7 separate regions of the Homo sapiens genome follow, and all the other regions are linked to region 2. Evidence: promoter capture Hi-C in 16 types of primary human blood cells and fetal thymus (Javierre and others, 2016). All regions are on one chromosome and are shown on one strand. Each heading gives the region's core, a stretch centred on a gene start or on the middle of the fragment in contact. The rest is flanking DNA. Distances are from core to core; before and after follow the strand shown. Region 1 overlaps ROPN1 (rhophilin associated tail protein 1). Region 2 holds the start of POLQ (DNA polymerase theta). Region 3 overlaps HACD2 (3-hydroxyacyl-CoA dehydratase 2). Region 4 overlaps MYLK-AS1 (MYLK antisense RNA 1). Region 5 overlaps HACD2 (3-hydroxyacyl-CoA dehydratase 2). Region 6 holds the start of TIMMDC1 (translocase of inner mitochondrial membrane domain containing 1). Region 7 overlaps MYLK (myosin light chain kinase).

What was found. Contacts are between HindIII fragments. The CHiCAGO score rates a contact against its expected background, and 5 or more counts as called.
Region 1: a contact is called between a fragment that was not itself captured here and the fragment with the promoter of POLQ in region 2, in 2 of 17 cell types (naive CD8 T cells and activated CD4 T cells). The highest score is 6.0, in naive CD8 T cells.
Region 3: a fragment that was not itself captured here is called in contact with the fragment with the promoter of POLQ in region 2 in 7 of 17 cell types (activated CD4 T cells, naive B cells, non-activated CD4 T cells and 4 more); the score reaches 6.8 in activated CD4 T cells.
Region 4: a fragment that was not itself captured here is called in contact with the fragment with the promoter of POLQ in region 2 in 4 of 17 cell types (activated CD4 T cells, naive CD8 T cells, monocytes and 1 more); the score reaches 6.9 in activated CD4 T cells.
Region 5: a contact is called between a fragment that was not itself captured here and the fragment with the promoter of POLQ in region 2, in 2 of 17 cell types (total B cells and activated CD4 T cells). The highest score is 7.3, in total B cells.
Region 6: a contact is called between the fragment with the promoter of TIMMDC1 here and the fragment with the promoter of POLQ in region 2, in 1 of 17 cell types (fetal thymus). The highest score is 7.7, in fetal thymus.
Region 7: a fragment that was not itself captured here is called in contact with the fragment with the promoter of POLQ in region 2 in 3 of 17 cell types (fetal thymus, total CD4 T cells and naive B cells); the score reaches 9.6 in fetal thymus.

Annotation. Positions count from the first base shown.
Region 1 is chr3:123,981,299-123,985,185 of GRCh38, forward strand. All of the region lies in intron 1 of ROPN1 (rhophilin associated tail protein 1), which reads right to left. Among named protein-coding and RNA genes, the nearest start is that of ROPN1, 8.9 kb to the right of the region's middle. The HindIII fragment of the contact is 1,236 bases long and covers 951-2,186 here.
Region 2 is chr3:121,544,449-121,548,086 of GRCh38, forward strand. It overlaps POLQ (DNA polymerase theta), which reads right to left and starts at 1,540. Exons shown (of 30, transcript NM_199420.4): 1 at 1,267-1,540; 2 at 279-458. The coding sequence starts at 1,429. RefSeq lists enhancers at 1,273-1,502, 1,394-1,688. The HindIII fragment of the contact is 11,524 bases long and covers 1-3,638 here.
Region 3 is chr3:123,577,329-123,581,311 of GRCh38, forward strand. All of the region lies in intron 2 of HACD2 (3-hydroxyacyl-CoA dehydratase 2), which reads right to left. Among named protein-coding and RNA genes, the nearest start is that of HACD2, 5.7 kb to the right of the region's middle. The HindIII fragment of the contact is 5,964 bases long and covers 1-3,983 here.
Region 4 is chr3:123,594,775-123,598,467 of GRCh38, forward strand. All of the region lies in intron 2 of MYLK-AS1 (MYLK antisense RNA 1), which reads left to right. Among named protein-coding and RNA genes, the nearest start is that of MYLK-AS1, 11 kb to the left of the region's middle. The HindIII fragment of the contact is 1,640 bases long and covers 1,001-2,640 here.
Region 5 is chr3:123,554,702-123,558,201 of GRCh38, forward strand. The region is part of intron 3 of HACD2 (3-hydroxyacyl-CoA dehydratase 2); the gene reads right to left. Among named protein-coding and RNA genes, the nearest start is that of HACD2, 29 kb to the right of the region's middle. The HindIII fragment of the contact is 4,418 bases long and covers 1-3,500 here.
Region 6 is chr3:119,497,180-119,501,131 of GRCh38, forward strand. TIMMDC1 (translocase of inner mitochondrial membrane domain containing 1) reads left to right here and starts at 1,368. Exons shown (of 7, transcript NM_016589.4): 1 at 1,368-1,748; 2 at 3,516-3,681. The coding sequence starts at 1,555. RefSeq lists an enhancer at 1,108-1,157. The HindIII fragment of the contact is 2,873 bases long and covers 1-1,892 here.
Region 7 is chr3:123,713,785-123,717,724 of GRCh38, forward strand. The region is part of intron 13 of MYLK (myosin light chain kinase); the gene reads right to left. It overlaps LOC105369194 (a long non-coding RNA gene), which reads left to right. Exons shown (of 3, transcript XR_924417.4): 3 at 1-2,616. Among named protein-coding and RNA genes, the nearest start is that of MYLK-AS2, 26 kb to the left of the region's middle. The HindIII fragment of the contact is 1,495 bases long and covers 1,763-3,257 here.

The DNA.
Region 1 (3,887 bases), core at 319-2,818, 2.4 Mb after region 2:
TGAGAGAAATCTTCCAGTGGCCAATGAGGTGAGTAAAGGGGAACCCGCAGTGCTGGGCAAATGAAGAAACTAGGGCTCACCTGGGCACATGTAGATGGCAGGAACTTGCAGCTTTGAGATAAATTGCTAGGCAGGGTGGATAGAGACCAAGGATTAGGCTCACAAAAGGCAAATGTCTGGACTAAAGGACTCCCCTTCTGACCTAAACTTGAGACCCGCCCAGGGACTACACCCTCAGCGTGAAAAGGTGTGGCTGAAAATATCCGCCTACAGGCAGGGGTAAGCAACAAAGAAACCTGTCTCCATTGCTGCTTCTAGTCAGGAGAGAAACAGTCCCCCAGGAGTTGGTAGCCACAGACTAGTTCTAAGTTTTCAATTTATGCCAACACCAGCATGGCTGGGAAATCCCAAGACAAGAAACTAAAGTGGTCTTAGGTTGGTGGGACTTCATGACCTTTTACTTTATTTATGTTCTTTTATTTGGAGGAAAAAGAGGATAAAATAATGATTAATTTTAGACTTTGCAAAGTGTTAGAAAAGTTATAACAGTAATGTAACCACTAAATCTGTAGAGAGGAAAAAAGGAATTTTTTAAAAACACAAACAAGCAAACAAACAAAACCCTTCATCAGTCAAAAAGAAGGCAAGAAAGGAGGGGTAAAAACAGGAAAAGTAGACAAATAACATGGTAGAAAATAATGCATACATATCAGTAATCACAATAAAAATAAATGGGCTTAAATGTGCCAGTTAAAATACAGGTATAGGTACACCTGAAAAAATGAAGACACAGAAAGACTCAAGGTGAAAAGAGTATAAATAAGCAAAGAATAACCAATAAAAGTTAAGGTAGACATACTCATGCCAGACAAAAGATACTTTAAGGCAAAATGCACTATTAGGAAAAAAGAGTGACGAAAGCTTCAATTGTTTTTGATAAAATGATAAAAAGCTTCAATTGTTAAGACAATAACAACAATTCTCAATGAGTATGCCACAGACATCACCATGGAGGAGTCTCACCATGCTAGGTGGAAAAGCAATATATTGTTTCTGGTGACATATATATGTTATAATATTATAATAAAGAGTAAGGAATGATAAATACAAATTCAGAATGGTGGTTACCCCTGGTGGAGGAGGGAGAGGATGGAGAGGGATGTTATTAGGGAAATACAACAAGGGTCTCAGTACTATTAGTAATGCTCTATGTTTTAAGCTGGATGGTTGCTGTCTAGATGCTTGTTTCATTATTTTTATACTTCTACTTACATCATGTATTTAATTTTGTCAGTATGAAATATTTCATCATTTAAAAAGTTACTCTTATAAGTTGTTTCTGATGACTTTTCAACCCATTTTATCTATCAAAGAGCAGTGCCTTATTTGCTCATGTTGTCTGCACATATATATATTCTTTTACTGTGTTAAAAATACATACAATTTACCATTTTAAATGTACAGTTCAGTGTCATTAAGTACATTCACATTGTTGTGCCACAATCACCACCAGCCATCTCCAGAACTTTTTCATCTTCACTAGCTGAAACTCTGTACCCATTAAGTACTAACTCCCTATTCTCCTTCCCCACAGCTCCTGGCAACCACCATTCTTCTATCTTCATGAATTTGACTATCATATAAAATCATATGGCATATAATATTTGTCCCTTTGTGTGTGGTTTATTTCGCTTAGCACAATGTCTTCAGGTTCATTCATGTGGTAGCATGTGTCAGAATTTCCTTTTTTTTGGATCCATAGTCAGATGTGTTACCCATTGCACCACTGGCCCCAAGCTGAGAATTTCCTTGTTCTTAAGGCTGAATACTATTTTGCTAGATGTACCACAATTTTATCCATTCATAGGTCAATGGACAGTCGGATCATTTCCACATTTTAGCTATTGTGAATAATGCTGCTATGAACATAGGTATACAAATATGTGTTCAAGTCCTTGCTTTAAATTGTGTTGGGTATATATACCCAGAAGTGGAATGGATGGATCATATGGTAATTGTATTTTAATTTTTTGAGGAACTGCCACACTGTTTTCCACAGCGGCTGCACCATTTTCTGTGTCCATGTATTTTGACAGGATCTTTTGGTTGTGCAATTGTTTAATTTCTCTCCTGGAGTCTCAGATAATCTCGTGTAAACGAAAAGATGCCCCAATCCTAATTAAGGAAGCTTCCATGACAACAGTAACAATGTTAACCCTTAGTCAGTATAGAGCAAACTTAAGTAAAGCCTTTACTTCATCCCATTGCTGTTTCTAACAATTGGTCTGCAAGCTCTTTTCATTTTGGGGCAAGGAATCTCTTGTAAGTTTTCCATACCCATTGTCTTTCTCAGGGGTTGGTCCTTCTTTAACCTCTTGCAGTTTTTTTTTCTCTTCTCATCATTCTATTTTTCCCTTAAAAGTTATCAATTATATCTATTAATTTATTGTAAGTGCCAGGTGCACTCATAACAGGACCAGTACTGTGCTAAGTACAGGACCATACATTTTTCTCAAGTAATCCTCAAAATATCCCTATGGGGTAGAATATATTAGCATTATTTCACAGATAATGAAACTAGAAAAGATAACAGAACTTTTGCAATGACATATAATAAGTGACAGAGGCAGGATTTGAATACACATAGTCTGACATGGGAGGTGGCCTGCTAGACATGACAATTCTTTCCTTCTTGAGACTTTCTCTTCCTTTGATAGCATACGCCATTCTTGTGTGTCTATTTTCCTCAGCATTGCTCCTTTGCCTCCTTCCATAATTCCTCTTCCTCCTTCCTTGCTCTGAGGAAGAGTTAGCAATCTTCCCCCAACTCAGGTCTTCAGCATTCTTTCTGTTGCTCTTCTTGGAGAGCTCGCAGCCTCTTCACGGCTTTATCTACGACAAAACTGTGTGGATTGCACTTGTTTTCCCATCTTTGACCTCTCGCCTTGTGCTTCTATTTCATACTTCCCATTGCCTCCAGGACACTTCACTAGAATCCATTGTCCATCTCCCAACTAAATCTCTCTCCCAGGTTCTTCTCTGAACATGATACCACTAATCTCTCAGTCCTTTGGCCTCAAAGTCTGAGAGTCATCCATTTTCTTCAGTCTGCTGAATCTCACTAAATCCCACTATTTCCTTTGAAATGTGTCTTCAATTAATCCCTTTCTATTTCTACTCCTGTGTCTCTGGCTCAGCCCCTTATCACCTATTGTGCAGCCTCCTGACTAGTCTCCCTGTCTCAGGTCATTCTCTGGCCTGTCCTGTTCAGTGTGTCCAGATCTATCTTCCAAGTTGCTTTTTATAGTCAGAGAGCACTGCTCACAAAATGACAATCATATCCTGACTTTCAAGGTTTTCTATGATTTGTACCTATAATTCTAAACTAAAAATTTTCCGCTACTCTTTACCAACACAAATTTCCTATACAGTCTGCTCTGGCCACTTTCCAAAAAAAAAAATTATATATCCAAAGCTTAACACTGTCTCGCCCACTGTTAACAGTAATCTATCCTTCTTTTCTCTCTTCCCCTCAGTATTTTGCTAATTCTAGCCGGCTTACTTGAAGTGCCCTTCTTCTTTCATCTGCTTAAACCCTATACTTCCCCAGGGTTTTTCATACTGTGCCATAGGCCTTCCTAGAAAACTTGGATATCATCAAATATTGTTTGTAGTATGCATATTACCACTCAATCCTCTTCTGCCTTTCATTGCTCTCTAAAGCTGAGCTCCCCACTAGAGGCCATGGCAGAATGGGCTACAGGTGTGCCATGAAAGATTGATGGTTGTAAACTTTTTATAGTAATACAAAATGTACAACCACTTACAAACTTACAACAGTTGAAATTATATTTGGATACTGTTTGGCACAGTCAGTAAACTTCCAG
Region 2 (3,638 bases), core at 290-2,789:
CACACTCACTGGGATATATGTTTGTTGAGAATAATGGCAGGCAGAATTGCCCACTCTTTAAATTGTCATTTTTCTTGCTTCCCTCCACCCCAGTCAAACAATAAAACTTTTGTAATTTAAATATAAATAAAACTCCACTTTTCACACATATTGTACGATTTTCTCTAGTTATAAAGCACTGCCTCATTCACCTTTTAAACGAACCACAACTACCTCAATAGAGTATTCTTTACATTCATATCTTAAAAATAGTAATTAGTTTACATAAATTTGGATACCTGAATAAACTAAATTCTTTCCTTCCAGGACTTGTCCAAGCAAAAGGCACTCTGCCTGCCATTCAAACATCTTTTTTACACCAAAACTGTGGTATTTTTCCAGAACTGCTTTAGGAAGTCCCCAGTTTGCCAATAGTAGCTTGTCTCTTTCGTAGTCAGGAACTGTAGGCTTGCATTCTCCTTTTAGGAAAAAGAAAAAATTAAAATTTAATTTACTTCTAATATATGAGTTTTACAGTTAGCCCTTCACCGTGTGTTGGAATTCCTATGTGTTGAAATGAAGCTCTTTAAAGCACATCCTGACTTCAAGAATCTTATGAGAAATTGACCATGTATAGAAAAGTAATAAATTGTTATTTACTGCATATAATAAAAATTCCTTAAAAGCCTCAAACGAACAAAAAAGCGTGCAATACACAGTAGATAAAGAGTGTTGGAATTACGGGTGTAGTTGGGGGAGGAGGGCAATATGCAAGCATTACAAAGCTAAGTTAGGTGAGTTTCTATTTATAGTAAGTTTTAGTTCCATGACGACTGCACAACTAACGATTTTAAAAAACTGGGTCGACATCCACGGGACACCCAACCAATCTCATTACGAATCCCTTCCAGCCTTCCCCTGGACGCCGAACAGCCTGTGCCGTACTCCAGGCCCAACAATCCTGTCTTAAGGGTCTGTAAGGAGTACTGGGTACTACCAGGAACGAGCCGCCCAACAGATGATGGGATGAAGCTAACTAGGAAGTTGTTTCTCTAAAGGTCGAAAGATCCAGAAGCCACGTGAACATTAATACCAGGCGATCACTGAAAACACGCGTATGTCTGAACAGAAAGTGACCTGCCACACCAGGCCCCAGTCACAGAGAAGGGGAGTAGAAGCCCAATGGGGTATGCAACGAAGCAAGTCCCGTGGGGTGAGGACACCTCCCGACCCATGGCCCGGCGGAGCTGCCCCCGTTGCCCGCGGCCTCCCGGGTTCCTGGAGCACCTGCAGCTGCGGCCTTCAGGCAGCGACCAAGGCCGGGCGGCGGGCTCAGCACGGACCCGGAGAGGAACTGGGGGCTGGCACTGCTGTCACCGCCGCTTCCCGAGAACGAATCTGAGCCTGATTCTGAACGCCGCCGTTTCCCACTCCGACGCAGAAGATTCATGGCAAACTCTTCTCGGCCGATCAGGGCAAGCCACAGTCCCAGCGTCCTCCCTCTCGGGAGAACCCTGGCCTGGCAACAGCTGCGGACATCTTCCCGCCAGTCTTCAAACTCAAACCTCCCGGCCCGCCCCGGAACCATAGAGTTCTCCGTGGCTTAAGTAACCCGAAAGCCATAGACTCGTGGGGAAGGAGCGGCTCTCGCTGGCGTCTAAGACTTCCGGCCTCCAACCTCCTGGTTGGTTAATATGAGAGATAGATTAAAGAGGAAGAATACAGAATCTACAGTTATAACCATACTGACCTAAAAGCCTTCCTTCTCCTTTTGTCCATTTCTGGTTTGAATAGGAAGGCCATGCTAACTTCATAAAATGGGCTGCCCATAATAGGTAGATCAGGGAAGTAGCTCTTCTTAACGTATTGGTATTCTGTAAAAAATTATTTCAGATTGAGAAGCATTATGCAAGATAGCCTAGGGTTTCTAATAGAGCATAATTTCCTCCTTTCTCCTAGTATATGATGGTAGGGCAGGGCTATTTCTGAACACAATTTCCATTTTAGCCAGCATGCATTGTGAGGAATATGTAATGAGGAATTGGGGATTGCTGGCTGACAGACCCCTGAGACACTATATGAACGCCGCGAGGAAGGGGCTCTGAATATACCCCAGGGATCGTTATGAGCCAAGAGCTTAGTAATGCATCTGTGTTGTCCCTTTTGTAAAGGTAGAAGCGAACGAGTTCTGAACGTAAAACGGTGACCATTCATTACCTAGTTGCATAATTCATTTCACCAAGCAAAACTAGTAGGCCCTAAGCCTGACCTGAAGAGGCTGTGCAGTTCTAGAGCACTAAAAATCTCAAAAGGTCCAGTCCAATTAAAAAAAAAAAAAACACTCGAATACAATCTGGAAAATAGCATTCGAACCATCAATTCCTTCCGTGAAAACATTTTTTTGATTTAAATGACAATATTCTAAAGTTCCACGAGATGGCGACATTACTCCGTGAATGAAACATTTTTCTCTTGGCCTTTTACGCAATCAACAACTATTTACTGAGTATCTACTGTAAGCTAGCCACTGGGTAAATGGCAGTGAAATGGCATAAAATGGTTCCTGCTCTCAAAGAGAAAGAGTCTAGAGAATAAGGCAGACATTAAACAAGTCAGTTAATGAAGTGTGCCATATGCTTGGGCAGAAATGAAGAGTACTATTAAAGAAATAAAAGAGATCTCGCCGGCCGTGGTGGCTCACGCCTGTAATCCCAGCACTTTGGGAGGCCGAGATGAGTGCATCACCTGAGGTCAGGAGCTCTAGACCAGCCTGGCCAACATGGTGAAACCCCGTCTCTACAAAAATACAAAAAATTAGCCGGGTATGATGGCGGGTGCCTGTAATCCCAGCTACTCTGGAGGCTGAGGCGGGAGAATTGCTTGAACCTGGGAGGCGGTGGTTGTAGTGAGCCGAGATCGCACCACTGCACTCCAACCTGTGCGACAAAGAAAGACTCCGTCTCAAAAAAAGAAAAAAAAAAAAAAGAGAGAGAGACCCCTAGATTGCAGCCAAGAAAGAACTTTCTCAGATGCAGTGTAACTTAAGGGTTAACAGTGCAACTCTGGAGTCAGTCAGTCTAGGTTTGAAACTTAGTAGCTGTGAGATCTTGGGCAACTTGCTTAACCCATTTTTTGTTTGTTTGTTTGTTTTGAGACGGAGTGTCCCACTCTGTCGCCCAGGCTGGAGTGCAGTGGCTTGATCTCTGCTGACTGCAACCTCTGCCTCCCAGGTTCAAGCGTTTCTCCTGCCTCAGCCTCCCAAGTAGCTGGGATTACAGGCCTGCACCACCACACCTGGCTAATTTTTGTATTTTTAGTACAGACAGGGTTTCACCATGTTGGTCAAGCTGGTCTCGAACTCCTGACCTCAAATGACCCGTCCACCTCCGCCTCCCAAAGTGCTGGGATTACAGCGTAACCCTTTTGTGCCTCCATGTCCTCATCTGTATGATAGAGATAATAATTGTAACAACCTATTTGGTTATTTTGAGGACTGAGTAAGTCAATATGTGTAAAGTACTTAGAATAGTGCCGGCACATAATAAATACTATTCAGAGAAAATATTTAGATGTTCTAATATAGCCCCCAATTTAAATTCAGCATTTTGCTGGGAAAAGGCTAAACTAGAAAAATCTCTTACAAAGCTATTCTGTTTTTA
Region 3 (3,983 bases), core at 405-2,904, 2.0 Mb after region 2:
AAAGTGTCTTTGGCCGGGCGCAGTGGCTCACACTTGTAATCCCAGCAATTTGGGAGGCCGAGGCTGGCGGATCATGAGGTCAGGAGATCGAGACCATCCTGGCTAACATGGTGAAACCCCGTCTCTACTAAAAATACAAAAAATTAGCCGGGTGTGGTGGCGGGCGCCTGTAGTCCCAGCTACTCGGGAAGCTGAGGCAGGAGAATGGCGTGAACCCGGGAGGCGGAGCTTGCAGTGAGCCGAGATCGCGCCACTGCACTCCAGCCTGGGCGATGGAGTGAGACTCTGTCTCAAAAAAAAAAAAAAAAAAGAAAGTGTCTTTGCTATAATTACAGTCTTATGTTAACCAAAGATATTTAGAAACCCAAATTCTCTCAAACATAATTTTAAACTGCCATAACTGCATTAGTCCACTAATTTTTAATCTAACTATACTTGACAAATATGCAAAGATAACATCTGCCTCATCAATGAATATCATGGACTCCAAAAATGAATAAAGTAGAAAACACCCACAACTCATTACAGAGGAACTCGTTTTTTAAAAACTGACATATAATTCACATGCCACAAAATTCACAATTTTAAACTGTACAATCTAGTGGTTTTTAATATGTTCACAGAGTTGTGCACCCACCACCACTATTTCAAGAACAATATCATCACCTTAAAAGGAAATCCTGTACCATTAGCAGTCACACCCCACTCTCTCTCCCCACAGCCCCTAACAATTCCTCTACTTTCTGTCACTATGGATTTGCCTATTCTGGATATTTCTTATAAATGAAATCATACTATTTGTGACTTTTTGTATCTGCCTCCTTTCACATGCATTTTTTCAAGATTTATCCAGGCATATATCAGTAATTCATTTGCCTTTATTAATTTTATGAATGTTTATATCCATAGACCACATTTTATCCATGAGTAGCATTTTATTTATAGATACTTTTTTTTTTGGAAATGGGGTCTTGCTCTGTCACCCAGGCTGGAGTGCAGTGGCACGATCATGGCTCACTGTAGCCTTGAACTCCTGGGCACAAGTGATCCTCCCACCTCAGTCTCCTGATTAGCTGGGACTACAGGCATGTGCTACCATGCCTGGCCAATTTTTTAATTTTTTGTAGAGATGGGGTCTCGCTATGTTTCCCAGGATGGTCTTGAATTTCTGGCCTCAAGCAATCCCCCCATGTCAGCCTCCTAAAGTGCTGGGATTACAGGTGTGAGCCATGGTACTCAGCCAGGCTTCCTTTTGTACCTTGCTACTACATGCTCCTTTGTACTTGCTTGGTAAATGTTTTTATGTCTTTTAAAAAGCAAAGTGTTATTATTTTCTTAAGAAGATGTGAAATTGGAGAACAAGTAATTTCGATTTCCTTTTTAAGTAAACTCCCACAGAACCTAATAAAGAATAACATTTAGCATAAAGAGATATAAATGAGTAGCTGCCTTCCCTGGATTCATTTTCTCCTCCTGTAAACAGGATATATGTCAACACTAATAATTCCCATCAGGATAACTTATGTGTAATTAAACAATACCACACACATCTAATTATTACACAGTGTAGATGGGGTAGGCAATGAAAAACTCCTCAACCACAGAAATTGTGGTTTTAGCAAGCCTGCTCTATCGCCCAGTCCAAGGGATTACTTCCATCACTGACCTTTGCAACGTTAATTGCCTGCATGTTCCTGGGAGTCTTCACTTCCTTATGCACAGACATTTTCCCAAAATCAAATCCAGGATTTGTCACTTAATTGGTTCTTAGTGGGGATAACAGAGATAAAACCAAAAATCCAAGATATTTTCCTAAATCCCTATTAAAAATTCTATAAGGATAAACAGGCTAATCCTTCAAAGTCTAAGACTTGGTTCCTGAGTGGATTTTAAAGTATGACACTGTTTAATGTCCCTACCTTCCATAAGATATACTTAAATTTTAAAAATTATACTTCTAACATTACCAAGTTTTTTTTTTTTTGAGACAAGGTCTCACTCTGTCATCCAGGCTGGATTGCAGTGATGCAATCATAGTTCGCTGCAGCCTCAAACTCCTGGGTTCAAGCTCAAGCCTCCCATTTCAGCCTCCCAAGTAGCTGGGACTACAGGTACCCACCACCCAGCCCAGCTAAAAAAAAAAAAATTTTTTTTTTGTAGAGATGAGGTCTTGCTATGTTGCTCAAGCTGGTCTCGAACTCTTGCCCTCAAGTGATCCTCCTGCCTTGGCCTCCCAAAGCTCTGGGATTGCTGGGACTATAAGCATGAGCCACTGTGCTCAGCTCTAATATTATGATGTCTTAAAGAGATAGAAACCCCTTTAAATTATTGAAGTATTCCAAATGGGGACAACCCCCTACTATATCAAGTACTGGAAGTCTGATGGTCTTGACTCCAAATTTGCTTCTCTGTAGCTTGTGGGAACTGTACTGGCCAAGGTTCTGAAAGAGAAAGTACTACTTATTTACTAGTGTCCGCTTCCAAAAAAAGTTCAAGCCTCTAAGTTTAAAAAATGGTTCACATTAGGATTTGTTAAAATTTCCTCACACTCAAATTTAGGGTAGTAAGGGACTTTAGAAATCTACTTTAACCTAATTATTTACAAATGAAAAGGAGGTGGATACGAGAGAAAAGACTTGCCCAAATCTATAGAGTCAGTTGGGAAAACTATTATACTTAAAATAAAAAGGTACTCAGGCTTCCAGCTGGAAGCTCATTTCATCATACCACCTACTTAAAATGCCTAAGTTTGGACACTATTGAAATTCCTCTGTGTTGCAGTGAGCCGAGATCCCACCACTGCACTCCTGCCTGGGCAACAGAGTAAGGCCCTGTGTCAAAAAAAAAAAAGAAAAAAGAAAGAAAGAAAAAAAGAAATTCCTCTGCCTTCTAAGAGAAAAAAACAAAAGCAAAATGGATAACTTTCTGATCTAGAACGTGAGAGTGAATCCAGCCTGGGAAACACAGCCAAACCTCACCTCTACCAAAAATATAAAAATGAGCCAGGCACGGTAGTGCACGCCTGTGGTCCCAGCTACTTGGGAGGATGAGGTGGGAGGATGGCTGGGGCCTGGGAAGTCAAGGCTGCAGTGAGCAGTGATCACACCACTGCACTTCAGCCTGGGTGACAGAGTGACCCTCTCTCAAAAAAATAAATAAATAAAGTGAGAGTGGGCTGGGTGCAGTGGTTCACGCCTGTAATCTCAGTGCTTTGGGAGGCTGAGATGGGAAGATTGCTTGAGCCAAGGAGTTTGAGACCAGCCTGGGCAACACAGGGAGACCCTGTCTCTATGAAGTTTTAAAAATTATCCATGTATGGTGGTGCAAGCCTGTGGGCCCAGCTACTCTGCAAGCTGAGGTGGGAGGACTGCTTGGTCCCAGGAGTTCAAGGCTGCAGTGAGCCACGGCCATGATGGCACCACTGCACTCCAGCCTGGGCGACAGAACAAGACCCTGTCTCAAGAAAAAAAAAAAAATTGAGAATGAAAGGTAGAGGTATCACACTTCATTTCATGAGATAAAGAATTTTTTTTTTTTTTTTTTTTGAGACAGAGTCTCGTTCTGTTGCCCAGGCTGGAGTACAGTGGCGTGATCTCAGCTCACTGCAACCTTGCCTCCCAGTAGCTGGGACCACACGCCCGTGCCACCACACCCGGCTAATTTTTGTATTTTTAGTAGAGACGGGGTTTCACTGTGTTAGCCAGGACGGTCTCAATCTCCTGACCTCGTGATCCACCCGCCTCGGCCTCCCAGAGTGCTGGGATTACAGGCGTGAGCCACCGTGCCCAGCGAGATAAATGATTTTTTCTTAAGTATCATTCCATAGTTCAGGTTTTAAAAGTTGCCAGTAAAGTATAAATGTTATGATGGTCTTGCCTGGAGGCTAAGCAAAATGAACCAGATCTTCCCTGCAATCTGAAGGTTTTTCACCATAATGAAATATACGAACTATGGCGGCTATTGATTTTGTGTGCCCAAAGCTA
Region 4 (3,693 bases), core at 571-3,070, 2.1 Mb after region 2:
TTCATCAACGTGTATATTTATGTCAGTTATATTTCATAATTGTTTTAAACAAAGGAATGATCAGCACAAGGAGTGGCAGAGGTATGACATCCAGGAAAAGTGCACGGGTAGCTTCACCATTGTTGGTAATGTTCTTAAGTTAGGTGTGGATTCATGAGTGTTCATTTTTATGCTCATAACTTACATATAGTTTATATGTTAGATACATCTTATACGTTAAATATGCATAAGAAATTTATAATAAATTAAAAGCAGAGAGGAATCCTGATAGTAGGAAATAGGATGGTTTGCACCAGGATTGTCATCTAGGAAGCTATCGTATAGTTAATCTGGACATAATAAGAATGTTAGAGACTGGAGTCACTGCCATCTCTTTCAGGGAAGAGATTGACAGACAGGGGCCATATTTTCTACCATATTATTCTCATTCCCCTGACTACATACATAGATGCCAAGACTATAAAGCAAAATCATGAAATGTTTATCACAAAAGTCAGGATAGTGGATACTTCTGAACTGGAGGTGGGCACCCCTCTTTCTTATCTTTTTGTCTTCATAGAAAAGGTACAAAAAGACATATGTACTAACCAAATTTCGAGGTTCCTAAATAATGGAGACTAACTCTCGGTTAGTTAGAGAGAAAATGAATTTATTGAAAGGACATTACATAGCTCACAAAATTGATGGAAAAGCTGAAGAATGAGGCTTGGAACTTGGAAAGGAGCCATGGGAAATTAGGCAGCCCGAAATAGAGACCAAATCAATACACAGGAAGCATCTGGTTAGTATCCAACTGCGTCTGTCATTGGCACAACCACCATCAGACGTTGGACAGTACCCTTATTGCTTCCTCTTCCACCTCTGGAAAGATTCTAAGTGCCATTTGCTTCTTTCTGTTACTCCAGAATCAAGGTCTTAGGTAGGAGTGTCTGATTGGAAGGTCCTGTGCCCAAATTCTAGAGACAAGGGATCTGGAAAAGGGGCTATTTGTCCATACTTAAGCTTCTTTATTGGATTTTTTTCCAAATAGGAAGTGTTAGATACTAGGAGGCCAAAAATGAAAAACTCCTATCACAAGGAATATTAGAAATAAACATATCTGGCTTCTGCCTATTCACAGCGAGGAGAAAAGATTAATAGGATCAGTTAAGATCTGTGAAATTCACAGGGCCATGCTTTTACTTGGAGACAAGGGATTCTGCACAGTCACTGAACTGAAAGGCAGCCAGGCTTTCTCTTCCTTCTGCTTTGCAGTGCACCACTCTTTCTCTTTTCTAGTTTTTCTGCCTGTGATTGGCAGTGGGAACTGGGGTGGAATTCTGATCAGTCCTGCCAGGCCAGGAAGCTATCTTCAATTCAGGAAGGTGAGATGTGACCCTGCTGCTGTCTCCAAACTGGCCAGCATCAGAGAACTCTTCAAGGGTATGTTTTTGGGTGCCTGACCAACCACGAAGACAACTGACATTTGGGCCGGGCATGGTGTAATCCTAGCACTTTGGGAGGCCAAGGCAGGAGGATCACATGAGCTCAGAAGTTTGAGGCCAGCCTGGGCAACATAGTAAGACTTTGCCTCTACAAAACATAGAAATATTAGCTGGATGTAGTGGTGCATGTCTATAGTCCCAGCTACTTGAGAGGCTGAGGCAGGAGGATGGCTTGAGCTGGGGAGATTGAAGTTGCAGTGGATGGTGATAGCACCACAGCACTCCAACCTGGGCAGGCAACAGAGCAAGATCCCATCTCAAAAAAAAAAAAAGACAGCTGACATTTGGATTCTTGTTTGGCTGGTGATCTAGTTTTTCTGTCATGCAAAACCCTGGAGGAAAAGAGGGATGGGTGATAGGAATCAGACTCTAAATTCCACCCTAAACTTCCAGTTAGCGGTGCCTTAGACTGGCTGGTGATACAACCTAATATGAAATGGCTATATCAGATTCATCTCTTTGAGAATCTGAACTTGGAAGAACTGAGCCCTCAGCAGATGTGGGGAGAGAAGAGACACATGTGAGAGGCTGTGTGATAGTTGCCTTAGTATTTGATGATGCTGTGATCAGCTGCAGGCCATAGTCTCCCTACAAATAGTTAATGAACACACTAATGAAGTTCAATCACGTTTATGAATAAACACTGATTAAAACAATGAGATAGATGTCTTCTTCTTTTTCTTTTCTTACTCAAAATGTCAGTAACCCTGTTGGCAGGCGTATAAGAACAGTTGTGCTCTTACACTTTGCTATTGAAAGTATAAATTGATAGACTTTCTGGAAGACAGCTTGGAAATACATAAATATATACTGAAACTTTAAAATTATGCGTGTCCTTTGACCCAACAATTACACTTCTTGGAACTTTTTTATTTTTATCTGTTTTAGAGATAGGATATTGCTCTATTGCCCAAGTTGGCTTCAAACTCCTGGGCTCAAGTGATTCTCTCACCTCAGCCTTCCGATAACTGGGACTACAGGCACACGCCACTGCACCCAGCCATTGGAATTTATCCTAAAGAAAGAATTTAGGATGTGAAAAAAGATTTAGTTATAAAAGTTCATTCATCACAATGCTATTTACAATAAGAATATTTCCAAACTGTTGGAAACAATCTAAATGTCCAGCAGTATAGACTGACTAAATTATGATGGAAGCTTAAAATAGTATATTCAGCCATTAAAAATGGTTTTGCAGAAACTTACTTTTAAATGAGGCTTCTGAGTCAAAAACAAAAACAATTAATCATTTGTAGCAAAAGCAGCAGCCCAAGCAACATCCTATGTTGGTTTCCAAGGGTCATCATGAGGGCGAGATGGTACCTGCACATGCAGCGGGGTGCATTACAGGACAGGAGCCCTGTAAAAATTAGGAAACTCTGATCTTCTATATAACTGCCAGAGACCTGCCCATCATCCTCTCCAGAGAGAGAGAAACCTTAGTTTACTCTGGAATGTAAGCAAGTCTTGTCCAGGAAGGGAGGAAGAAGAGTTCTTTATCTTTACTATCCTGGACCATCTCCAGGGAGGTAAACATGTCTACGCTTTACTATCCTGAGATGTCTCCTTATATAAGTATTCTTGAATTGTTTGCAATTGCCTTCGATCAGAGGACCTGAGCCATGCAGAAAAGTGAGATGTTCAGGGTAAATCTTCTTCTAACATTGACTGTATGTGAAGGGCATTAGATGCAACTGTCAATTTTTTTTCTCAGTTTGAAAAAGTTTTTATTTTTTATTTCCCATTTCTTAGAGACAGGGTCTTTCTCTGTTGCCCAGGTTAGAGTACAGTGGCATGATCACAGCTCACTGCAGCCTCGAATGCCTGGGCTCAAGCCTCAGCCTCTCAAAGTGCTGGGATTATAGGCATGAGCCACCATGCCTGGTTTTGAAAAAGTTTTAAGAGAAAGTTTGGGAAAATAATATTGCATAAATGTATTTGACATGGACGTTGTTTAGAATATGCTAAGTAAAAAAGTGGATTATACATGGCATGTAGTAAGATCCCATTTTTTAACAATTAGGTATAGGTGTTTGTCTATGGAGAAAAAAATCTGGAGGGGGTATACCAATATATTAATAATGTTTATTTTTGGGTGAGAGACAGCATCATTTGTTTTCAAATGTTCTTTCTGTTTATATGTGTTTTGCTTTTTCTCCAATGAATGTAGTAGTTTTTGTGATTAAAATTTCTTTTTCTTTTCTTTTCT
Region 5 (3,500 bases), core at 539-3,038, 2.0 Mb after region 2:
CCAACTCTATGCTAATATTAAAGTGATTGATTAAGGGACACAAAATAAAAGAATGCACAAGGGCATATCAGGCAAATGGAAACAAAAGAAAGTAGAGGGTCATGATTTTGATTCCGATAAAGTAAGATTTAAGACAAAAAAGCATTAAATCTGACAGACTTTTTTAAATGCTAAAGTCACAACTGACAATGAAGAAATAACAGTTATAAATATTTATGCATCAAATAACATAGCAACAACTTTTGCTAAAGCAATTGCTATAGAAGATGCAAGGAAAATTAGAAACACATTAATACTTAGAGATGTTAACAACATTATCATTCTAAGTGCAAGACAGGTCAAGCAGACAAAAAAATAAGTAAGGATACAGAAGAACTTAAAAAAATAGACATTGAATTTTATACCCTGATAGTAAAAATGAAGTAGAAAGTGTATATGCCTTCAAAATTGGTTGGGGAGAAAACTGAGCTAGGAATAATTTTATCTTATTGAGTAAAGAATATGAAGAATGTCATACTGGAAGTCTTAGCCAGTGCAGTAAGACAAGAAAAAGAAATAAAAGGTAAATAAACTGAAAAGCAAGAAATAAAACTGTCTTTGTTCAAAGATGATATGATTATCTATATAGAAGATCTCAAAGAATCTACAAACACACACACACACAAAATCCTAGAACTAATAAGCAAGTATAGCAAGGTCACAGGATATAAGATCAATATATGAAGGTCAATTGCCTTTCTCTGTACCAGCAATGAACCACCAAAATTTTAAAGTTAAAAAAAAATCATTTATACTAACACCAAATAAAAACACATATAACTCTAACAAAACAGAGAATTGCTATGTGAAAAACTGCAAAACAATGATAAAAGAAATCAAAGATCTAAATAAGTGGAGAAATATTATATGTCTGTGGATTGAAAGAGTCAATATTGTTAAGGTGTCAATTATTCCCGACTTGCTCTATAGATTCAACACAATCCCACTCAAAATCCCAGGAAGCTATTTTGTAGATGTTGACAAAAAGATTCCAAAGTTCATATGGAAAGGCAAAAGACCCATACAATACTGAAAAAAGAAGGAATAAAGTTAGAGGACTTCTACTACCAGATTTTAAGACTTATAATCAAGGTAATCCTGGTATTGGCAAAATAATAAACATATACATCAATAGAACAGAGGGGCCAGAAATAGATCCAGCAATAACTGATCTTTGACAATGGCATAAAGACAACGCAATGGAGAAAGAATAGACTTTTCAACAAATCGTGCCGAACAACTGGATGACTATATGTAAAAAAATAAATAAATAAAACTAGACACAGACCTGACACCTTTCACAAAAATTAACTCAAAATGGATCACAGACTGAGGCGGGAGGATCACCTGAGGCCAGGAATTTGAGACTGGTGTGGGCAACACAGCAAGACCCCATCTCTAAAAAATAAATTGAGGCCGGGTGAAGTGGCTCATGCCTGTAATTCCAGCACTTTGGGAGGCCAAGGCAGGCAGATCTATTGACCCCAGGAGTTCAAGACCATCCCTGGCAACACGGAGAAGTCCCATCTCTACAAAAAGCACAAAAACTAGCCAAGTGTGGTGGTGCACGCCTGTAGTCCCAGCTGCTTGGGAAGCTGAGGTGGGAGGATCACCTGAGCCCTGCAGATCAAGGCTGCAGCGAGCCATGACCATGACACTGCACTCCAGCCTGGGTGACAGAGCAAGACTCCGTCTCAAAAAAAAAAAAAAAATGATATACAATAGATGTGCATATTTTCAGGGTACATGTGATATTTTGACATATTCATGTAATATGTAAAGATCAAATCAGGGTAATCGAGATATCTATAGTAACAAGTTTTCAGACACAATACCAAAGCACAATCCATGAAAGGGAAAACTGGTTAAGTTGTACATTATTAAATTTAAAAATCTGTGCTTCCTCAAAGACACTATTAAAAGAATCAAAAGACAAGCCCCAGAGCAAGAGAAAATATTTGCTGAACACCTGTCTGATAAAGAATTTGTATCCAAAATATAGAAAGAATTCTTAAATCTCAACAAAAAAACAATCCAACTGAAAAATGAGCAAAGACCTGAATAGACACCTTGCCCCAAAAGATGACAAATGAGCATATGAAAAGATGTGCCATAGCATTTGTCATTAGAGAAATAAAAATTAAAACAACAACTACCACTACACGCCTATTAGAATGTCTGAAGTCCAACAAACTGGCAAACTGGACTTGACTAAAATTAAAAATTTCTGCTCCGCAAAAGATACTGTAAAGGGAATAAAAAGACAAGCCTCAGACCAGGAGAAAATATTTGCAAAAGATAATATTTGACAAAGGACTGTTATCCTAAACTTAAAAAGACCCTAAAACAGGGGTCCCCAGTCCCTGGGCTGCGCAGCAGGAGAGCAGCAGGTGAGTGAGTATCACTGCCTGAGCTCCACCTCCTGTCAGATCAGCAGCAGTGTTAGATTCTCATAGGAGCATGAACCCTAGTGTCAACTGTGCATTCAAGGGACCTAGGTTGAGTGCTCCTTATGAGAATCTAATGCCTGATGATCTGAAGTGAAACAATTTCATCCCAAAACCACCCCCTCCCCTTATCCCCAGTCCATGGAAAAAATGTCTTTCACGAAACCAGTCCCTGGTGCCAAAGAGGTTGTGGACCGCTGCCTTAAAAGATACTTTACCAGGCTGAGGTGGGAGGGTCACTTGAGGCCAAGACCAGCTTGAGAAAGATAGCAAGATCCCATCTGTACAAAAAATTAAAAAAATTAGCTGGGCATGGTGGCTCACACCTGTAGTCCCAGCTACTTGGGAGGCTGGGGCAGGAGGATCACTTGAGCCCAGGAGTTCAAGGCTACAGTGAGCTATGATTGCTCCACTGCACTCCAGCCTGGATGACAGAGTGAGACTGTCTCAAAAAAATAAACAACAAAAAACACCTCATCAAAGAGGACCTACAGATGCAAATAAGCATATTAAAAGATGCTCTACGTCATGTATAATCAATACACCACTACACACCTATTAGAAGGGTCAAAATCCAGAGCACTGACAATACCAAACGCAGCAGAGGATGTGGAATAAGAAACTCTCATTCATTACTCTTGGGAAAGCAAAACGGTACAGACACTTTAGAAGACTGTTTGGCAGATTCTTACAAAACTAAACATACCCTTAGCATATAATCTAGCAATCATGCTCTTTGGTATTTATCCAAAGGATTTGAAAACTTGCATCTGCACAAAAACCTGCACACAAATGTCCATAGCAGCTTTATTCACAATTGGCAAAACCTGGTAGCAACCAAGATGTACTTTACTAGGAGAATGGGTAAATTGTGGTACATCCAGACAACGGGGTATTATTCAGTGCTAAAATGAAATGGGCTATCAAGCCATGAAAAGACATGGAGAAAACTTAAACACATATTACTAAGTCAAAGAAGTCGGTCTGAAAAGGCTGCATACTGTATGACATTCT
Region 6 (3,952 bases), core at 118-2,617, 2.0 Mb before region 2:
CAGGCCTTGGTAACTTATCTTGGTGCCCACTTCTACCTAACATGGGATAAGCAGTAATCCAGAGCCAGAAGTCAGGAGATCTGAATTATTCAACAAATATTTACTGAGCACCTACTGCGGTTCTAGGTCCTGGAGATACAGAGATGAATATATTTGGTCTGTGATCTCAAGGATAGTTTATTGAGACAGATTAATAGGAAATTATGATGCAGTGTTGTAAGTGCTACGATGAGTGCTGAATCAAATCTCATATCCCAGAGTAGTCTTCATGGCGCTGTCACTAATTGAGCTGGTCACTCTAGTCAGTCACTTCTCAGGGACTTATGTGTAGCATTTCCAGCTATCAAATTCCTAAGTCCACTTACTGTATTCTACTACAGTGTGGCAGTTTTGATTGACAACTAGAAAGGAATCAAGGAGGTGAAGGGATTGGCAAAATGAATAAGGGAGTATGCTTGTTAACAAGGATTGAATGAAATTACACGAATATTGAGAATATTTTAAATGCATTCATTTTAATGAAAACTGTACTTCGAAGCATATGTTAGCAGAGGTTGTAGTGACGGCAAATTATACAAACACTTGATAGAAATTCCAGAAATTCTCCTGCCTTTTGAGAAGCAGTAGGCATATGAACTAAAGGGAGTGAAATCCACCTTAGGAAGACCTGCCAAAAAGCTGATTCTTCAAAAAAGTGTTCTCGAAATCTTAGTGTAACTGGCACCAACACCCATCCCCAATGCCTCGTTTTTTTTCCAGCAGAACTGACAAGGTACAAACGGACCCCGCCCAGCCTGGAAGGCTTCTCTAATGTTGGCAGAGTAGGTTGGACTTGTTTTTGCACAAATCGCCTTTCCCTCTTTCCCTACTCCACTTGCACTGAATATTGCACTTTCTTCCTTACTGAAGCGGGATTCCTGCCTTTTTTTTTTTTTTTTGAGACAGATTTTCGCTCTTGTTGCCCAGGCTGCAGTGCAGTGGTGTGATCTCGGCTCACTGCAACCTCCGCCTCCCGGGTTCAAGCGATTCTCCTACCTCAGCCTCCCGAGTAGCTAGGATTACAGGCGCCCGCCACCATGCCCGGCTAATTCCTGGCATTTTAAATACGATAAATTACTTCAACCTATGACCACCTCAAGCTGAATATAAGTAGCCGCAGACACCGTTTGCATGACCCAGGAACCACAAACACGGAGCGAAGGCCTGCCGGGACCACGCTGAGCTTCACTACTGGCAGCCAACTCACTTCCGGGGGTGCACTCAGCACAGCAGTGGCCCAACCCGCCCTCAACCGGAAGTCTTTTGGGCTCCGGCTTCGCCGTCGCCCCGCCCCCTGGCCTTTGCCCCGGTCGGGCGGGACTTCCTGTGTCGTATTTCCAAGGACTCCAAAGCGAGGCCGGGGACTGAAGGTGTGGGTGTCGAGCCCTCTGGCAGAGGGTTAACCTGGGTCAAATGCACGGATTCTCACCTCGTACAGTTACGCTCTCCCGCGGCACGTCCGCGAGGACTTGAAGTCCTGAGCGCTCAAGTTTGTCCGTAGGTCGAGAGAAGGCCATGGAGGTGCCGCCACCGGCACCGCGGAGCTTTCTCTGTAGAGCATTGTGCCTATTTCCCCGAGTCTTTGCTGCCGAAGCTGTGACTGCCGATTCGGAAGTCCTTGAGGAGCGTCAGAAGCGGCTTCCCTACGTCCCAGAGCCCTATTACCCGGAATCTGGATGGGACCGCCTCCGGGAGCTGTTTGGCAAAGAGTAAAAGTGCCTAGGGTGTGAAGTGGGGTAGGGGGCCGCGAAAGCGGTGTCCTGCAGCGTGGGCAGCCTGGGTCAGCCTTAGGACACCAAGGATGGTGTGCTTCATTTTTAGATTATATTTGAGGTTCTGATATTTGTAACCCAAGCTTGTATCTTTTTTCTTTCTTTTTTTTTTTTTTTTTTCCAGACAGGGTCTTGCTCTGTCGCCCAGGCTGGAGTGCTGTGGTGCTATCTCGGCTCACTGCAACCTCTGCCTCTGGGACTCAAGTGATCCTCCCACCTCAGCCTCCCGATTAATTGGGACTACAGGCGCGCACCACCACGCCCGGCTAATTTTTTTTTAATGTATTTTTTATAGACAGGGTTCTTACCATGTTGCCTAGGCTGGTCTTGAACTCTTGGACTTAGGCGATCCGCCTACCTCGGCCTCCCAAAGTGCTGGGATTACAGGCGTGAGCCACCGCGCCAGCCCAAACTCGTATTTTTCTTTCTTTTTTTTTTTTTTTTCGAGACTGAGTCGCGCTCTATCGCCCAGGCTGGAGTGCAGTGGTGCGATCTTGGCTCACTGCACTCTTCACTTCCCAGGTTCAAGCGGTTCTCCTGCCTCAGCCTCCAGAGTAGCTGGGATTACAGTTGCCCACTACCATGCCCAGCTAATTTTTGTATTTTTAGTAGAGACAGGATTTCACCATTCGCCAGGCTGGTCTGGAACTCCTGACCTCACGTGATCTGCCTGTTTCCGCCTCCCAAAGTGCTGGGATTACAGGCCTGAGCCACCGCGGCTGGACTGCGCCCGGCCTAGAAGGGCAATTATTTTATAGTAACTTAATACTTAAGACAGCTATTTGTTAGAGCAGTCTCAGGATGACATCTTGGAAGCTTCATTAGCAGTTCTAGCTTCTTATGCATTTGAGAGTAACAAATCGAATTAAATAGTAGTTTTTCCTTGTTATTTTAGATTGGCATGTGCCACCCACTGCATAGTGAACTTTCCCAGTGCGTTTTTAAAAAAACATTTATTTGTTTATTTTTAGAGCCAGGATCTTTGCTATGTTGCTATGCTGGATTTGAACTCGGGCTCAAGTCCTACCTCAGCCTCCTAAGTTAGCTGTGACTACAGGCGTGTGCTACTGTGCCCAGCCCAGTGCTTTTATTAGTACAGTCCTATCTGAGTATTTCATGAAATTATTTAGTAAAATAGAATTTAGATTTTTTGTCTTACATCCACGTTTTTATTCTTTCATACATTGCCCTAAAATCTCACGAGTTGGTGTGATTTCTAAAAGTTAACTTAAGATTTAAACGGAAATATTGGTCTCTCTATCCAACTCACAAATTCTTCCTATTTCTAGGGGTGTAATAGTCATCAAAAGCACCTTTTAAAAAACTTTTTATTGGAGTAGGAAATGCATTTCGAAAAATGTGCCTAAGTATACTGATGGATGAATTTTCACAAACTGAACATAGCTGTACCCAGCACTAAGAAAGAAATGGCAACTATTGTAACATCCCAAAAGCTCCCCTTGTGCCTTTTCCGGTCATTGTCTTTTCAGGAGTTGCCACTATCCTAATTCTAACACCATAGCTTCGTTTTGTCTGAGACTACGTTCCTTTTAATATAACTGAACTGTTTAATTCATCTGAGAATTCTACCTATGATGAAAAATGTTGTGGTGGTAGCATTTGGGTTAATTCTGATTATAGAGTCTCTTGGAGAGCAATGTCCATAAACTAATCCCAAACAACATTGTCTTTTTGATGTTGTAGTGAACAGCAGAGAATTTCAAAGGACCTTGCTAATATCTGTAAGACGGCAGCTACAGCAGGCATCATTGGCTGGGTGTATGGGGGAATACCAGCTTTTATTCATGCTAAACAACAATACATTGAGCAGAGCCAGGCAGAAATTTATCATAACCGGTTTGATGCTGTGGTATGTACTGGTGATCTAAAGAAATTTGGGGCACACTGACTTAGTAATTCACTTTACACTTAATCATTCAATTAGGTTGTGGGGATGGAGGGTTGTTTTAAGGTGTCAGAGTAAAGAAATAAAGTCTGTACTTAATAACAGTGGAAGTACTAATGTTAAAGTGCCTGCATGTTGTTTGAGAGACTACTTTGTTATCTTCAGAACAGGCATGTTTGGCATCACCACTGTGGCTTTTCTTTCTCAAATACATTTCTTCCAATCCCCTGCTAAA
Region 7 (3,940 bases), core at 1,260-3,759, 2.2 Mb after region 2:
TGAAGCAACCTTCCCAAAGCAAGCCTCGGTGTTCTCTCCTCCAAACTTATGGCAACATAATACTGAGAAGTATGATGTCTGCATCATCAGTCTAATGCATGGTAATATTGCAGGGTTTTAGATGATTAGAAAGTAACATATAAAACAGCTAGAACAATACATGGCACACAAGCAGTATAAAAATCAATGTTTTCTGACTTTCCCAACCCAACTAACTCCTTTGGTTGTGGAAATTCAACCTGATAATAACTCCAATGAGAAAAACCCCCCAAACCAGAACTTTCATGTAACGATGATTCCTTATAAAGCCCAGCGCTCCAGGATTCCAAAAGATGTTCATAGCTAATTCAGTGTTACCCTCAACATCTCGGAAGTATTGGGCAGATTGTGTCTGTTTTACAGTGGAGGGAGCTGAGACTCAGAGAAAGAAGCTCGCCTGTCCTAAGGTCCTGGGGCTGCGATGCCCCATGAGGAGGGAGATGCTGCTGGTGGGGTCCTGGTCTGGGTGCTTTCCCTTGACTGTCCTGGGAGCAGAGGCAGGTCTCAATTCTGTGAGGAGCTTTCTGTCATCATCCATATTCATGTCCAGAGCTACCCATTACCCTGGGAGTCACTCCTCTCTGCTTGTCCTTGGCCTCCTTCTAGCATCATCCTGGTTTAAGGACCAGGGTCTGAGGCAAGAGGCCCCCAGTGACAAGGTTGTCTCAGAGAGCCCAAGACTTCTTCGTCTTGGGAGGACACCCACTGGCCATGGCACACAAATAGCAAGGGATGCTTTGCTGAGACCCAGTGACAGACTTGCCCAGCTCAAATGGGGCCAAACTAAATATACCCCGGGTTTCCCCACAGCTGTGCTTCCTGCTGCTCTGCTGAGACTGAGCCCAGAGAGGGCCTTCTTTCTGGAGTGCAGAAAGGGCTGAGTCTCCTTGCTTTCCTTGCCTAGGATTAAGGATCTAAAGTGCATTTATCTGTTGCTCTGTTACTTGGTATTAGCCAATTCACTCCTGGACTCAGTCATTAAACTGCCACTGTCCCATTTTGACAGAATGGAAAAGGATTGATCGGGCTGTCGTCCAATGGGAAAGACAAGCACAATGACTAAGAATAAGCCCAAGCAGATTGCTGACAAGTAAAAACGATGCCATGTAGACGAAGCTGTTAATAGGACTTAAGAAAGAGCAAGAATGGAGAAAGGGAAGAACAGAGAGAAGAGAAAGAAAAAGAGGCAATGTGAGGAAGAGAGAGGGGGAAAAGGGAAGCAAAGGAAGGGGGAGAGAATGAGAGACAGACAGATATACGCACTCTCCCCTTTATGATTCTACTGACCCATGGAGTTTTTCCGTCCTTGCCATTTTGGCTGTTTTTGACTCACTAGAAGTTGTTTTTGAAGCCAGTTCCTAGTCATGAAACTAAACATGAAATGATCGCTCTGGTGAAGCAAAAGCATCAAACAAATGACCTATCAGGATCCAAGAGCAGCCATGCAGAAAGCCCATGGGCTGAAGCAGGTGGTGGCCTGGTGCTGCTGCTGATCACCTGGACTACTGTGGGCAGCTGACATCACCTCCTGAGCATCACTTTCTTCATCTGTAAAGTGAATTCGGAAGTGTCAAGTGGAGTTGTTGTGAGAATTAAATAAAACAAGCCAGCTTTTCTAGCCAATTAGACTTTCCTATCAAACAATTCCTTCTTAAAAACAAATTGATAGTGGTTTTACTTTAAAAACCTAATATAAATTGATACCCAACATGGCGTTTTGGAAAGCTTTTATTTAGAGGAAGAGTTAGGAGCAGTTTGCTACCTCTTGCACTAATTCTTCTTATAAAATAACCAGTAAAGCCTCTTCTTCAAACCCAGCACCAGGAGTGAGGCCTTTACCTCCTCTAGGACCTGACACTAGGAACCCACTGTTGCCTTTGTCCTGGTGGCTGACCAGGATCTGCCATCTCCTTCTGCACTACAATAATTCTCCTGTCTTCCCTTCACAGCCCTTCCTTTTCTTTCCGTTGTTTTAGTAGGAAAAACAACTAAATTCTGAATTTCTCCTTATAAGTGTGTTTTTCTACCTGCCAACATTTGCTGGTCAACTTGCTACTTTCTGAAGCCCCAAGGTCCTGGATCCAAATTTGCATTCAACACATGTTTGCCTTAATCTTGGATCTACCAAATATTTTCCTTAGGCTTTGAACATGAGCTGTATTCCTTAGTTATTACAATGCAAAATGCCATTCCAACAGCAATTCTGATTCACTCCAAACCCTGTTATACTATGGAAATTCAACAGATCACCAATTGAGGGGGCACCATGGAAGCACAGTGCCCCCATCTTTCTTTATTTGGAGTTCAAAATCCAGCATGGTCCAGGGATCACCACCAGCCTCCTCCTTTCCCTAAATTCCAGGATTGTTAACTCTGGAGGATTCATCAAAGAAGAGTTACATTCTCCCTGCTGACACGCCACACAGCCCCTTCCCATTTCCAGGGGGTTTGTGCAAGCTGTAAATCCCCGGGGCATCTGAATTCCCCTTAAACAAAAGTCTGTCTCCTAACCAAACAGAACCTTCTTGAAGTCAGCAAAATGGCTACTTTGTGGCATTAAAAGGATTTTTCCTCCCATAGCCTTGTTTTCTTTTGGCCTCCCTTCCTCCCAGAACTTAAGAAGCAAATGGGAAGAGAAGTGTGCGAGGAAAAGAATGAAAGGAACAATGACGTATAATATCCCAAAAAAGATCTCTGACCAGTAATGATAGGGTTGCTAGCTGGGAAGCAAGGATCACTGAAACCACAGCCTTTCCACTGTCTTAGAAGCTATAATCACACTCTAAACATAAAGGTATGGCATCCAAACCACCCACTGTTCCCTCCCAGTGCGGGCCTGGAAGCCACACTCTCAGTTACACTGTCATCACATGGGTCACATTTTGCCACTAGGAGCTCAATCCTGCGATTCTGGATAGCATTCTTGATCTGGGTCTCTATGTAATTATGACTGACTATGGGCTGTAGAGGTGGAGAGTTATAAAGCTCTATAATGGCCCTATTAGTAAAATGAGGCTCAAATTCTATGGCATGGGCACAAACGTACATGTATATGCTCAGAAGTCTTTCTGTAACACAAAGAACCCATGTGGTACACAAACCCAATTCTGTACTCAACCTACATAAAATGAAAATATTGGTTATAAATTTTAACATGTAATTAATTGCTTGCCTTCTTACAGTTTAAAGGCTTGTGGACAGATGTTTTGAATAAACTAAGCTTCTTAATATATATAAAAAAGGCAAGTTAAAACTGGTATTTATTCTTCTTCAATATATTTTTCTGTAGCCAATGTAAGTATTTAAGAAGTTGTCAGTGTTTTTAAGCTTGAGGAGGTCAGGATCCATACGTTATGTTAACTGGATAGATTGTATAGTGTCCAAAGTACCTGTGCATAACCAGGGAAGACAAAGGAGGTGGCTCCAGGCTGCCCCGCAGAGTGCCTGGTATTAATCTGAAAACAAACTGTGCCTCTACTCATTGCCAAGCAAACGCTGACTTCACTGATGCCTGTTGTCTTCATTAGAAGCTCTGCATCAAAACAAATACTCTAATAAATATGCTTGTTATATTTTATTATCTATTCTAGAGATGATCTTTTCATCTTTTTAACCTACCCACATTTTATGTCCTTAGATGCCTTAAACAGGCCCACTAGGCCTTCAGTTAAATAAACAAACCGTTAGGCTGAGAAACTATGTCAAATGGGCACAACTGGCAGGCTATTAATAAATCTAGACACTTAAGAATTTTAGCCTTGATGGAGATACTCCAGGGGGAAAAAATTTTAAATATTCTAGCCCAAGGAAGCCCCCAGCAATGACTCAGTCCAAACGCTGTGAAATATATACTGTATTTCAGATATTCCTGGGCTCTGCAGGAATTTGAATTAATCATCCT